Linked DNA regions of Homo sapiens: region 2 is linked to region 1. The links are contacts of gene promoters, found by promoter capture Hi-C in human tissues and cell types (Jung and others, 2019). All regions are on one chromosome and are shown on one strand. Each heading gives the region's core, a stretch centred on a gene start or on the middle of the fragment in contact. The rest is flanking DNA. Distances are from core to core; before and after follow the strand shown.

The links. The method cuts DNA at HindIII sites, captures the fragments that hold promoters and counts their contacts. A contact is called where the count stands out against the background at its distance.
Region 2: a contact is called between a fragment that was not itself captured here and the fragment with the promoter of SERPINB13 in region 1, in 2 of the 25 tissues and cell types used here (H1 embryonic stem cells and spleen).

What each region holds. Positions count from the first base shown.
Region 1 is chr18:63,584,625-63,591,005 of GRCh38, reverse strand. SERPINB13 (serpin family B member 13) reads right to left here and starts at 3,663. Exons shown (of 8, transcript NM_012397.4): 1 at 3,556-3,663; 2 at 2,174-2,355; 3 at 1,291-1,350. The coding sequence starts at 2,338. RefSeq lists an enhancer at 1,178-2,377. The HindIII fragment of the contact is 3,313 bases long and covers 3,007-6,319 here.
Region 2 is chr18:63,720,856-63,727,236 of GRCh38, reverse strand. SERPINB11 (serpin family B member 11) reads right to left here. Exons shown (of 8, transcript NM_001370475.1): 7 at 6,251-6,381; 8 at 3,344-4,242. The coding sequence ends at 3,838. LOC124904318 (a long non-coding RNA gene) reads left to right here. Exons shown (of 3, transcript XR_007066401.1): 3 at 2,252-2,327. Among named protein-coding and RNA genes, the nearest start is that of SERPINB11, 21 kb to the right of the region's middle. The HindIII fragment of the contact is 6,033 bases long and covers 133-6,165 here.

The sequences.
Region 1 (6,381 bases), core at 2,414-4,913:
TGTCTTGAGATTTTATCAGCATTTTTTAAAAGCAAGATTCAAAATACTCTGAATTTACATAATAATCAAACGGGTACATGCCAAGCCAGTCTCTGGGCAAACTATTAAATGAGGAGATTGGAGTAGATGACCTCTAAGATGTATTCCAGTGCTAATATCCTTTCAGTCAGTAATTCTATTCTCTTCATACCCCTGTGGCTCCCAGGAAAATTCTGGGGAATGGGCAAAACTGCTAGACAGCATGTATGTGTAAGCTTTGCCTTACACAAAGCTGAAATTCAGTTTCCACCCCAGTCATCTAGCCCTTCACATAGGAGTAGGGCAGCTATCCAAAAGAATGAGCTGTTTTCTAATTTGCACAAAGGTTCTACATGGGCTATCATGGCTGAGAAAGAATGTGCTCTGAAGACAACTGCACTTCTCAGTTGAGGGAACATTGCAGTGGCCATATGACCCAACTTGGTTGCGCAAACCCTGAAAGGAAGCCTGACCCTCCACAGGAGCAACTGAGCCACCCACACGACCTAGCCTTTTGGGGTTGTGAAATGAGCAGCTCCTATTGCTGGGTGATCTGAGCCATGGTTTTATGAGGGTCTGGAATTGCACTATGACTACTGTCAGAGCAGCTGTGCCCTTCCTGAGAGTGCTAACGTCTGATCCTAGCCCCGACCTAATGGGCTTATTCCTTTCCCATATTTGAGTAGACTCTCCTTTGGATGGCGAATACAGGAACACTGGAGCTGGAAAAGACCTCAGGAAGTCATTGGGCCTGTAATAATTTTTTAAATACAACATCAGCACGGGGTTAAAAATATGAGTGGAGTTTAGCAATAATATCACCTACTGCTACTACCACCACCACCACTGGCTCAGTTGCCAGATGCCCCTACTGCGGACTTTACAGAGGCTGAAAGAAGATAAATAACTTGCCCAAAGTAGCATCGCTCTTAAGTGACTGAGCCAGGACTTGGACCTAAGTCTGTTTAACTCCAAAACCCATCCACTCTGCTATGGGAACTTTTCTGTCTATTAGCCTTTACCAGTTCTATCATAGCGGTATTGTCCATTACACCTAAGGTCTCTTCTCAATATTAAGGGGTTATTATTATTGTATAATCCTTACAACAATATTTGTCTATGGTGATTATTATTGCTTAATAGTAAAGCAACAATATTGCTTTCATGCCTTTCTCAGTCCTTTTCCCCAGAGACCCCACACCTAAAATGCAACTCTACTGAAGTTTGTAAAACACATCTCCCCACCTCTTTTCCTTCAGCCTTTATTCTTACCACCTCTTTTTCTTCAGCCTTTATTCTTGAGCTCTTCGTCTCTTTTTCAGAGTGAAACACCTGGAAGAGATAGAAAATATTACTGTGGTGCTCAGAGAAGAGAAAACCTCACACAGAATCAGTCAGGGGAGAGTGGACGCTTCTGAAAGAAACCTCGGTGGTATATGAGGTGACATTATCTCCTTGCAAAATCAGAAAAAGGTCTGCGTTTACCTCTGATTTTTCGTGTGTGTGTGTGTGTGTGTGTGTGTGTGTGTGTGTGTGATGGAGTTTTGCTCTTTTGGCCAGGTTGGAGTGAAGTGGCATGATCTTGGCTCACTGAAACCTCTGTTCCTGGATTCAAGCGATTCTTCTGCCTCAGCCTTCCGAGTAGCTGGGATTATAAGCACCTGCCACCACACCCAGCTAAGCTCATGCCTGTAATCCCAGCACTTTGGGAGGCCAAGGCGTGTGGATCACCTGAGGTCAGGAGTTCAAGACTAGCCTGGCCAACATGGTGAATCCCCTTCTTTACTAAAAATACCTCTAATTTTTTTCTAAGGAACTCGTATTGGCTTATGTGTTCCTGTGTTCATCTTGGATGTGTCATTTTTACCCTTGTGGGGATTATGTCACTTTTTCCATAAGTACTTGGACAAGGTTACGCAACCAGTCTCTACTCAAAAAAATTTCAAGCATCTGGGAGCAGGTGGCGAGATGGTATTTGGAAAAGGAAGAGGGCTTTCCTGATAGACCTGAAATTGCTCCTTGTCTTGAAAGTCTCTGTTTCCTGGTCCACAGGTCAAGAAGAGCGTATTTTTAAGATAATGCAAGAGGGCTGACAACCCCCCCGCCAAATGAATTTGTGCATAGGAAACAAGGAAGCCCCCTGACTGCGCCCAACCTCCTCCAACTGGGAAGCGGTGGCTCCTCGGGTCCCCAGGAGGACCATGCCAATTGCAGTCAAGATGCCCACAGGGGAAAAGAAGATGTTGCCATCATTTGTTTTCTTCAGCTCTTTGAAAAGATCAAACCCAAGTCGAGTGCTGACGGCGCCAAGTGAATCCATGATGATTTTAGCGAGACCTAGAATAGCAAGAACAACAATCAAAACTGAACATTTGAATTACTCTGTGTCAGGGGAATCCTTTCTGCTTCTATTCCTCTTCTTGCATCGATCCGGAATACAGGGATTTCCACCCTTTTGGTGAAAGGTCGCTGCTGCCTGCTTCTCACGTCCTCTCTTGGCCTTCTCTTGCTGGGAGACATCCATCAATCTACTGGAGTCTTCCGTCATCCGGTGGTGCTCAGTTCTTATTTCCCCGCGGAGCAGGGTTAATGTTTTAATGGCTTTATTCTCTTGCTCTCTGTCTGACCCTGCCTGTCTCTGCCTCTCCACAGCCTCCTCTTCATGGAAGCTTCCCCAGGTAGACCCAGCCCTTGTCCAGGCGACACCAGTTTGTCCAGATGTGGGGCCCATGATAAGGCAGGGGGGTAGGCACAAGAATCTCCACGGGCCTCAAGTTCAAACAGTGCTCTCAGATCCAACCTTAGCAATAATTAAGCCGAGACTTGAATCCTTATCTGATACTATTTCTCAATTGATTCAAAATTCAGCCCAGAGAGTGACAGGATTGATTAAATCTCTTAAACCCCTTTCCCTAACTGCATACAAACTTGACTCTGGGCTGAATTTTTCTGAAGCAGAAACCACATATCTCTGGTCATGAATTATTAGGTGGAGATGAAAGGGTTTTCTTTTTTATACTTTTCTGTATTGTTTTAGGCTTGTACATGAGCTTGCATTACTTTTGTCATTTCACAAAAATAGTTTTTAAAGAGCAATTAATATTTGCCAAAAATAAATAGGTAGAACTGTTTTTATGTTTGCTTCATTACCAACTACTTTAAAACTAGTAAGTAAAGGCTTTAGGAGGAATCCTAAAACAAGAATAAGATTAATGAAAAATAAAGTTTTTTAAAGCCCACATACTTTGGGGCCTTTTGCCCTCAAGGGCTCATCCCCGCTAAGGCATCCCACATCTGATATCAAAGCTTTCATTTCAACCTCAGGTTTCCTTGCAGAGATCCTTTACAGGTTAACTCAGAAATAAAATGGATTAATTTACTGTCAAAGAAGATACATTGTCATGGCCATGTTGGAACTGAATTAAATAAAACTACCTCCAGAAAGTCTATGCAAAATAAAAGTAATTCTTTCAAACAACAAACATCATTGTTCTCAAAATACAGAGGTCTTAAATTGGAGCCAAAATAAGAACTTACCTCGGGTTTTTGGAGAGACGGTGGTGGCTGGGCAACGAACTAGGAAGCATAAGTCAATTAAGTAGCTGGGATCCTTAATTTATAGTTCTCCACATCTGCTTCAGCAGTGGTTTTCCACCTTGCGTGCACCTTAAAATCTCCTTGGAACTTTAAAAAAAATCTATGCCCAAGCCCCACCCCAGACCAACTGAGTCAGCATCTCTCGAGTGGAAACCAGGCATCAGAATTTTTATCACCGCAGGTGATTACAATGTACAGCCAACGCTGGGAACCAAAGGTGTATAGCCTGATGAACACATACATTAAATGCATACTTTACTTACCACAGATGGACAGAGCTGTGTCCTGACAAGTCATTCTCTGTAACAGAGTTATTTTTGCATTTGCATTATTTAGGAGTGCCAAATGCCAGGAAGAAAATGAAAGAAAACTATCTTGCTACAAAGGAACAAGAAAAAAGAACAAGAAAAGTTTGGGTAGGCAGCCACACACAAGCGAGCATGCGCACACACACACACGCACACACACATACACACACACACCTATTATTCTCAAGTATTCCATCCATTAATTGTAAAATATCTCATTTTAATTCATTCAATAAACATTTATCAAGTCTATTATGTACCAGGTACTGTGTCTAATGCCAATAATTCATAAGCACTCAATATCCTCACTGATTTCAGGAAAACAACACTACCAAAAAAACTCAATAGGAAATTACACCCCCAGATTCCAGTTTTTCCTGCCAACCCTGGAGCATTTCTACTGGCCCTACCAGTTCATTAAAAGAAACTGTGCTTGGATTAGTCTTAGCTTTAATCTTCAGTAAAGGGCGTGGAGATTTGCCATCGTTGCTGGGCAGCAGCTCCTAGAAGGGTGTCTTAGCTCTTCCTTCTGCCTAGAGGAACACCTCCCTAGATACGCAGGCTCGAAGGGCATATGGGTCATGTGTGTTCCAATCTCCATACTCACAATTTACTTTTTTCAAAATATTTTGATTGCTGCTCTTTAAGCAAACTCAAAGCCACATTTAGTTGATTTGCTTTTTAATAGGCACTGAGAATCTTGCAAATTGAGTAAGGTTTAGAAAGAATTAACACTTAGTGAACCCTGGATGCCAGTGAAATGGAAATGTTAGTTTTTTAAAATGGCATAAAATCTCTGAGTCGGCCATAATGCTTTATGTTTTAATATCCCTATCCATTTATATCTTCTTATTTCTTTCTCTGTGGCCCCTAGACTTCCTGTTCTATTGCCCAGCCATTTCCACAGGCCTTCTGCTTTTTGCTAAAGCTTTTGCTCTACCACCTGCTTTCACCGGGAAACCTGGCATGTCCTGAGGACTACTACATCCCATAGTCTTTTCTGGGAACGGCCACTCATATCTTGGGAAAGCAAAGTCACCATTCCTATTCTCCCTCGCACTCCCTCTTCTTCCAAGTCTTTCTTCCTTCAGTCACCTTCAATGCTCCCCTTTGGAAACTTAGACCATCACGCTGTGCTGCTCTGTCCCCAACCACAGGTCCCTCCGTGACTCTGCATATGGTCTTCCTGTCCACCCCAGCTGCTACCGCCACCCTGTACCACTTCACCATTCCTGTTGCCAGCGCCTCTCACTTCTCGGACCTTCACCTTCCCTCTTTTATAGTGGCCCACTCACACCAGGAACTGCTCTTGTTTAACACTCAAGCACCTCCATCTGGTGACAGATTCTCATCCTTATTCTCTCTAAACCTAATTTTCAACGCCTTCCCAACCTCTTATCACAGGACTCCTCCCTGTTCTGTTTTATCCATCTCTTCTTTCTAGGATCAAAACTGCCCCAGAGGTGGAATATATGTTGATGATTAAGAACCATTTAAAAAATGATTTCTATGCTAACAAGTGAGGAGAAGAAAGTTATCCCCTGAAGCAGAGTATTGATAGGTTCCCAACCCTGTTCCATAGCTCATAGTTTTGTTCCAACTTCTGTGTGTCTGTTACTGATACTGACTTGTAATATTTTTCTTCTCCAAGCATGTAATCTCGTAGTGGATGCTGCCGATGTTCCCACCAGATTTCCTTAACCTACCAGCATGCCTGTTACCCAGTTGTTGTTTTCCCTTATAATTCACAGATGCCCTTTTCTCGGCTAAAAGAGAGCTGCCTACGGGGGAAGCCAGGTACCACTCCATCCCCCGTGCCAGGGCACACCTCAGGCATGACTCACTGGCATAAGGGCATAAAAAGACAGCCCCTGGCTGGGCGCGGTGGCTCACGTTTGTAATCCCAGCACTTAAGGAGGCAAGGCGGGTGGATCACCTAAGGTCAAGAGTTCAAGACCAGCCTGACCAACATGGTGAAACCCTGTCTCTACTGAAAATACAAAAATTAGCCGGGCGTGGTGGCACATGTCTGTAATCCCAGTTACTCAGGAGGGTGGGGCAAGAGAATCGCTGGAACCCAGGAGGTGGGGTTTGGAGTGAGCTGAGATCACGCCATTGCACTCCAGCCTGGGCAGCAAGAGCGAAACTCCACCTCAAAAAAAAAAAAAAAAGAAAAAGAAAAAAAAAGACAGCTGCCTGAGTAAGACTAACTTTATAGTGCCACTTCTCCTCCAGACCTCCCCCACAAGATTAGACTGAAGCCAGTCTTTAGCAGAAACCACATGATTAACATTTCCCCTTGCCTTGTTCTGCTTCTTTCAAACAAGCATGCTCCCCATCACGCTTTTCCCAAAAATTACCTGAAAAATCCCTGTCTTTAGCTCTGCTTCTAGGGTGCCTCACCTATGACAAAAGTGTTGTGATATCTAGCCCAAGCCCTCATTATTTTTGCTTTCCA
Region 2 (6,381 bases), core at 1,900-4,399, 140 kb before region 1:
CCACCTGGGTCAGTTTCTCTCTCAGCCCCAACGACATTCAGATCTTTTCTCCTCCTGGAGGGTGTGGTTGCCTCTGGTAAGTCACAGGTTCATAGACTGAGATTCTGCCACATAATGTGGTTCCTGAGGAAGCAGGCACTGGGGATGGGGAGCAGAGAGGAGAACTGAGAGTGGAGGGAACACCAGAGTGTGTCTTAGCAGCTCACAGTGCTATTCCTTCCAAGTGCTGACCACTGGCCACACAAAACCAGTGGTAGCTTCAAAACCATACAAAACTAGGTGGAAGGCAGGACTTGGCCGTCAGGCTGCAGTGTGCTGGCCACAGCCGTCAAATAACAGCTGATCTAGATCCACCCTAGCAAAGCCCCAGAACCATGCTTCCATGGGATCAGGCTCTGTCGCCAGTAAAATATTTTTAAAAAGAAAAATGTACTTAAGTTGGTGCAAAAGTAATCTTGGTTTTTGACTTTAGCAAAAACATACGTACATACACACACATGAATATATTTAAGGAAATAATGACTGAATGCTCTATAAATCTGATGAAAAATATTAACCAATAATGCCAAGAAATTCAAAAAACCTCAAGCCAGAGGAAGAGATCCTGCCAAAAAGAGAAGGGAACTTAATCATTACGGTTGTGGGGAATGTTACTGGGGCCAGCAGCTCACCAGCAGGAAGAGAGCAGAGAGGCCCTCTGTCCAGGGAACCCACAACAGCTCCTGCAGGCAAAATGTCAGGTCCAGAGCATAACACCAGCTTGTAAATCTGCAGGACTGTCTCATTCCCTTGTCAATTTCTCCCTTACTGCTTATCCTTAGGAGTCAGAAATAGCAGGTGGGTGAGGGAACAACCACCCCTCTCTTCTAGATCCCAGGCTTCTCCCTGCACCTGTTGCAGTTGGTGGGAGGGAAGAAGATACACTATTAAATTAGGCTTGCAGTTAAGATCAGTGCTTCTCAAACTGTCGTGTGCACACAAATCAACTGGGGAGCTTGTTAAACTGCAGGCTCTGATTCCTTCTGTGGATTTGGGTTGGAGCCAGAGATTTTGCCTTTCCATTTCTAACAAGTTCCCATGAGACCAGCATTATGGTCCCCAGACCACCCGGGGAATGGTAAGGGTTTAGATTACTATCTGGGCCCAAATGTTTTAATTCCTGAATCTCATTATGTTTGTGATATGGAACAATCACAGATTTTCTAGATTTTAGGTGTAACCAGAAAGCCATGAGGACTGCCAGAGTTTTCATGCTGGGGCTAAGGATGGGCCTCCCTCTAAGCAGCTTTATAGGGACAATAGGAGGGGAATGCAAAGTTGCTTTTGTGGCTTATTTCCATGAGTCTTGCTGGTTTGTTACATTGTTTATACTGGCAGAGGCAGAGCTTCTGTTAGCTCTTTGAAGGGTGAAAATTCACCTCCCTGCCCCCTTGGTGCCTGTGATGGTTAATTCCATGTGTCAACTTCGCTAGGTCCACAGGTATTTGGTCAAACACCAGTCTGGATGTTGCTGTGAAGGCAATTTTTGATAAAATTAACATTTAAATCAGTACACTTTGAGTAAAGCAGATTACCTCCATAGTGTGGGTAGACCTCATGCAATCAGTTGAAGGCCTTAAGAGAAGATAGATTAAGGTCTCTTGAGGAAGAGGGCACTCTGCCTCCAGACTGCCTTCAGACTCAAGCTGCAGGATCAATTCTTCCCTGGGTATCAAGACTGCCCTGCAGATTTTGCACTTGCCAACCTCCACAATTGCATGAGCCATTTCCTTTAATTAAACTCTCTCTCTCTCTCTCTGCCTCTCCCCACCCCTAATATATGGAGATAGATAGATAGATAGATAGATAGATAGATAGATAGATAGAGAGATATATGAAGATATATAGATATAGATTATATAAAGATATATATATATGTTTTATAATTGACAATGGTGAACATACATATAGTGGGAACTTTAAGAAAAAGTCTGACATAATAAAAACCACAACACAGGACTATATGGGCTGTTTTCCAGTCAGGACAACCCACATCTCTCTTAGCGTGTACTCTCATTCAATAAACTCTCTGGTCTCTTAGCTAAATTGTCTCTTGGCCAAATTCTTTCTCTCAAAAAAGACAGAAACGGAGGACCCCCACACTTCCAGGTGACATCCTCAAGATGTTTAGGGTGAAAAGTAGATATCAAAAACCATTCTTACTTTTCCTACACCCATCATTGTTGCTTCATGTCTCTCCATGTTACCACAGTTAAACCCACTGTGCCTGTGGAGTCTTGGGTTATCCTGTGATGTTGGCCAAGACAGCTTCTTGTCTTTATGCCATGTGACGAATGGGCCTGGTAGACAATCACTGGGACAACCACGTGCAACAAGACAGCCATTCAGTGCAGCAAGGAAGTTGCATGCTATTATAAGTAGGTACTCTTCAGTCTTACACTTTGCTGAGATTGTTGCTTGCTTGCAATTTTATAATATTTTTATTGAAGATTAAAGTAAGCCACATTCTTCAATGCCCCAAGGAGAAAGGAAAAGATTTCATTAGCTGCCACCGCTGTCTATCCTAAAAGAATGTTGCCCTGTCACCTAGGAGGGAAGCAATGGCTGACCTCCAGCCACCTCTTCTAAGATGGGGCTAGGGAAGGTAGAAGTGGGGGACTCCTGCTCTACTCAGACTTCTGAGGAAGTTCCAGGAGAAAATATTCACAAAGAAGGCACTGAGAAGGCAGTAAATGTTTAATAGCCACTCTTATCTGATTACTGCTCCATGTTATCCTGAGTATAAAAGGAGGCTTCCTTTAAAACAAAAATCTTCTGATTGACTTATGCCTTTTTCTGTTTTGAACCTTTACTTGCTGAAGAATAAGATGGGTAGGAGAAGGAGGGAGAGAAGGAGGAGCAGAAGGATGAGGAGGATTGGGGAGAAGAGGAAGAAGAAAAAGAAGAGGAAGAAGAAGAGGACAGAGGAGGAGGAGGAGGAAGGGGAGAAGAAGAAGGAGGAGGAGAAGAAGAAGAAGAAGAGGAAGAGGGAGGAGGAGGAAGAGGAGGAGAAGAGGAAGAAGAAGAAGAGGAGGAGGAGGAAGAGAAGGAAGTAGAAGAAGGGGGAGGAGGAGGAAGAGGAGGAGAAGGGGAAGAAGAAGAAGAAGAGGAGGAGGAGGAAGAGAAGGAAGAAGGAAGGGGAGAAGGAGGAGGAGAAAATATTATTCAATTGAGTAGTATAATTCAATTCAATTCAAGCAATTAGCCAAAAATTCCACTGAAATATTGACTGAATTCAATTTATCCACATTCAAAGTATCCTTTTATAAGCCATTTGATTGCTGCCATGTTACAAGTCTTCACAGAGCTTTAAGGTATTTCATGCATTTATTATTCTCAACAGAGAATTTTGAACTAAAACTCACCACATTCTATTTACATATGCAAGGAAAATATTTAAAAATCCAAGCAAAGTTGAAGCCCTTCAGCTGGTTTTCTTTAAGCAGAGATGTCAGGTCACTTATTCAAGATCTCACAGATACATACAAGTCAAGAAAATCTAATCCCTTAAAATTTTACTCATTGACTTGATCATGTCACTGGACAGCACTCAAATGAGACACCACAGATAAGAAAGCCAGAAAGGCTTTCTGCATAAATCTACCTTTTTCCATGATTAACAAAGCCTTAGCTTCACAACTCATGAAATGGTTGGAAGAAATCCTAGACCTATTTTGCAGATGAGCAAACTGAGGCACAGAGGTGTGTGAGGTGTGAACAGCTTTTTGGCCGTGGGAAAGTCACAGGATTGTCTCTGCACCTCATCTGCAACTCTGAGCCTTGCTCAACCCCATCTGATTAGGGAGAGGCAAGCTTGCCACAGAATAGGATCGTGTTGGTATGAGTGTGCCTTATAAAGAAAAGGAAGGGGTGGTTCGCCTTGAACTGAGCTCTCATTGGTAGGCTTTTTACAGCGATGCTGTCCCCAGTGGCTGCTGCTGCCTCCGTGCCCTCTTCGCTGACATCCAGGTATGACTTGTGGATGGCTTTTGATAAATATAGGCCCTTGGTTGGTGACATTCCAGAAAGATCAGCTTTGACCTGGTTGAAGAGATCTGTCACCCCTAGAGATTTTAACAGGGAATTTAGCTCATACTTAGTTTCAAGTTTGAATCGGGGGAGGTGTACTTCAACTTCTCTTTCCATCATGTTAGAAGAGCTTGTCCACTCATGAAACGTCCCCGAATTCAGCTGCTTTTCTATCTAAGAGACAAAACACAGACAAGCCCACATGAGTCAAACACACGACCTCTACATTAAATATCATATGTTTTTATAATTCTCAGTGTGAGTGGTTCAACTTCATCACTTTTTCTACCTTTAATACAGTCTACTTACCTGGGAACAAAATCATACCATTAGCCACATTTTCCCTTTTCTGTTGTCTGTTTCTCATCTAAATTTCATAATTAAGCTTCTCAAGTAGGTATCCTACAGTCTTTTCCCTCAATTCCCTCAGCATACATGCTTCACTGCACTTCTCCCACTCTCGCCTGTGAAGTTGTCATGGTCCTGTTTCGTGGATGGACTCAACCATTTCTTCTGGGTTCTCATATCTGAAACATTTCATGATACCCTCCTTTATGAGCGTGATTCTTGTTTGGCATCCCTGATGCCAGGATCCCCATGCACTCTGATAGCTTTCATCCTCTCGTGCCCTTCTCTGTCACTGTTTCTGGTAGCTGCTCCTGAAGCTGAACTCTGGGCCACCTGTGCCTCTGCCCAGCATGTCAGCTCCCACATCAATGCTCAGCTTTCCCAAAGCAGCCTCAGCACACTGACTTCTCATTCTCCATCCAGTTTCATCATTTGTTTGTAAACCTTTCAAACGCCTCCCTCGGGCATTGAACTCTCCAGCCAGCCCTGTCCACAGCTGCAAACCACCATGCTGTGTCACATCCCATCTTTTTAATCTGAGAATTTAAAACAGTTTTGACAACTACTGCCTACCATGACAATATAAAAGCCACCAAAAAGCAAAGGTGGTTTTTCTTCCAAAGTATCTTTTCCTTTTGTCATTTTCTGCCCACATCCAAGAGACTATGACTTCATGCCACAGCTCATGCTGCCTTGCTTCTAAGGCATTTGCACTGCTCTTTGCTCTGCTCAGTTTAGCAGGGCCCCTGTGATTCTCCTATTCATCCAGCAAGGCTCGGACTGAAATTGCTGTACTAGGAATTCCTTTCTGACCCATTCATTCTAATCCCATAGTCTACTTCCAGAAAACTTTCTGCAGAATCTAAACTGCTCCCAAACTGCATTATGCCTCCAAATGTCTTTCACTCCAGTCAACCACAGGCCCTTAGGGACCTGATTCCCTCTGACTTAACCACAACCGTAAGCATACCTGTTATGGCCACCGCTGCACTTCTGTGACTACAGCTCCTTTTCAGTTGGCACCCGTCTCACTTCTTAATCCAAATGCGTACGTCCTGACCCTGCTCTTTCAAGAAGCCTTCCCTACCACCCGACACACACACACTTTGCTCACCTGTGCCACAGTGTTCCTTCCCTACCACCCAACACACACACACACCTTGCTCACCTGTGCCACAGTGTTTTCATCTCAAGCCAGCACTCCCTGGCTTAGAAGCCCCTAACTGTTAGGCTATATCACCCATATGTGTGTCAGCTTCTGCAGGCTTCCAGACGTCCAGCTGTTAGAAGCACAGCCTGCTCTATGCTGGGCAGCTTTGGCTGCAGCTGGGGAAAGGGGGTTGGATCCAAACTCCTTTCACGGCCATGACCACTTCTTAATGTGTGTGGTGCCCATTTCTCCACAAAACTGAGATGTTAAAAATGGTTAGCCTGTGAAAGTACAATTGGCTCAGAAATACTGCCCCCAGAGTAAAATGGCTTAATCAGATTTCTGCACACTAGGAGCCCAAATAGCATTATAACTTCATTACTATAGAAAGATGTCCCCCGACTATCAACCAACCAGTACTTGTGTGTATTTGTACAAAATATCACTTCTGCTTCCATGTGCCTTTCTCATGTAAGAATAGCTTGTTCTCCATAAACACACTGTCCTGAAAGGCAGAGGCCATGTGTCTCCCTGCTACTTTCACACCCCCGGGACAATCCTACTAAGGCTTAGATTGTGAATCAATGACTACGCTAATGTCATGAGATACACAGTGTGTCTGTGTGTGTGTGTGTTAACATGCACACATGCTTTAACTGCATTATAGCATTCTTATAATTTTACCTGTTTCAGATTAGCTATGCCTACTGGAAGCAGAATAATCATGCTTAATTTGTTGTTAACGTAGGGCAGCTCAAGAACTTGCATCTGCGGCTCCTTTACAAAGGCCAGTTTAAATGTTCCAATTTGATACA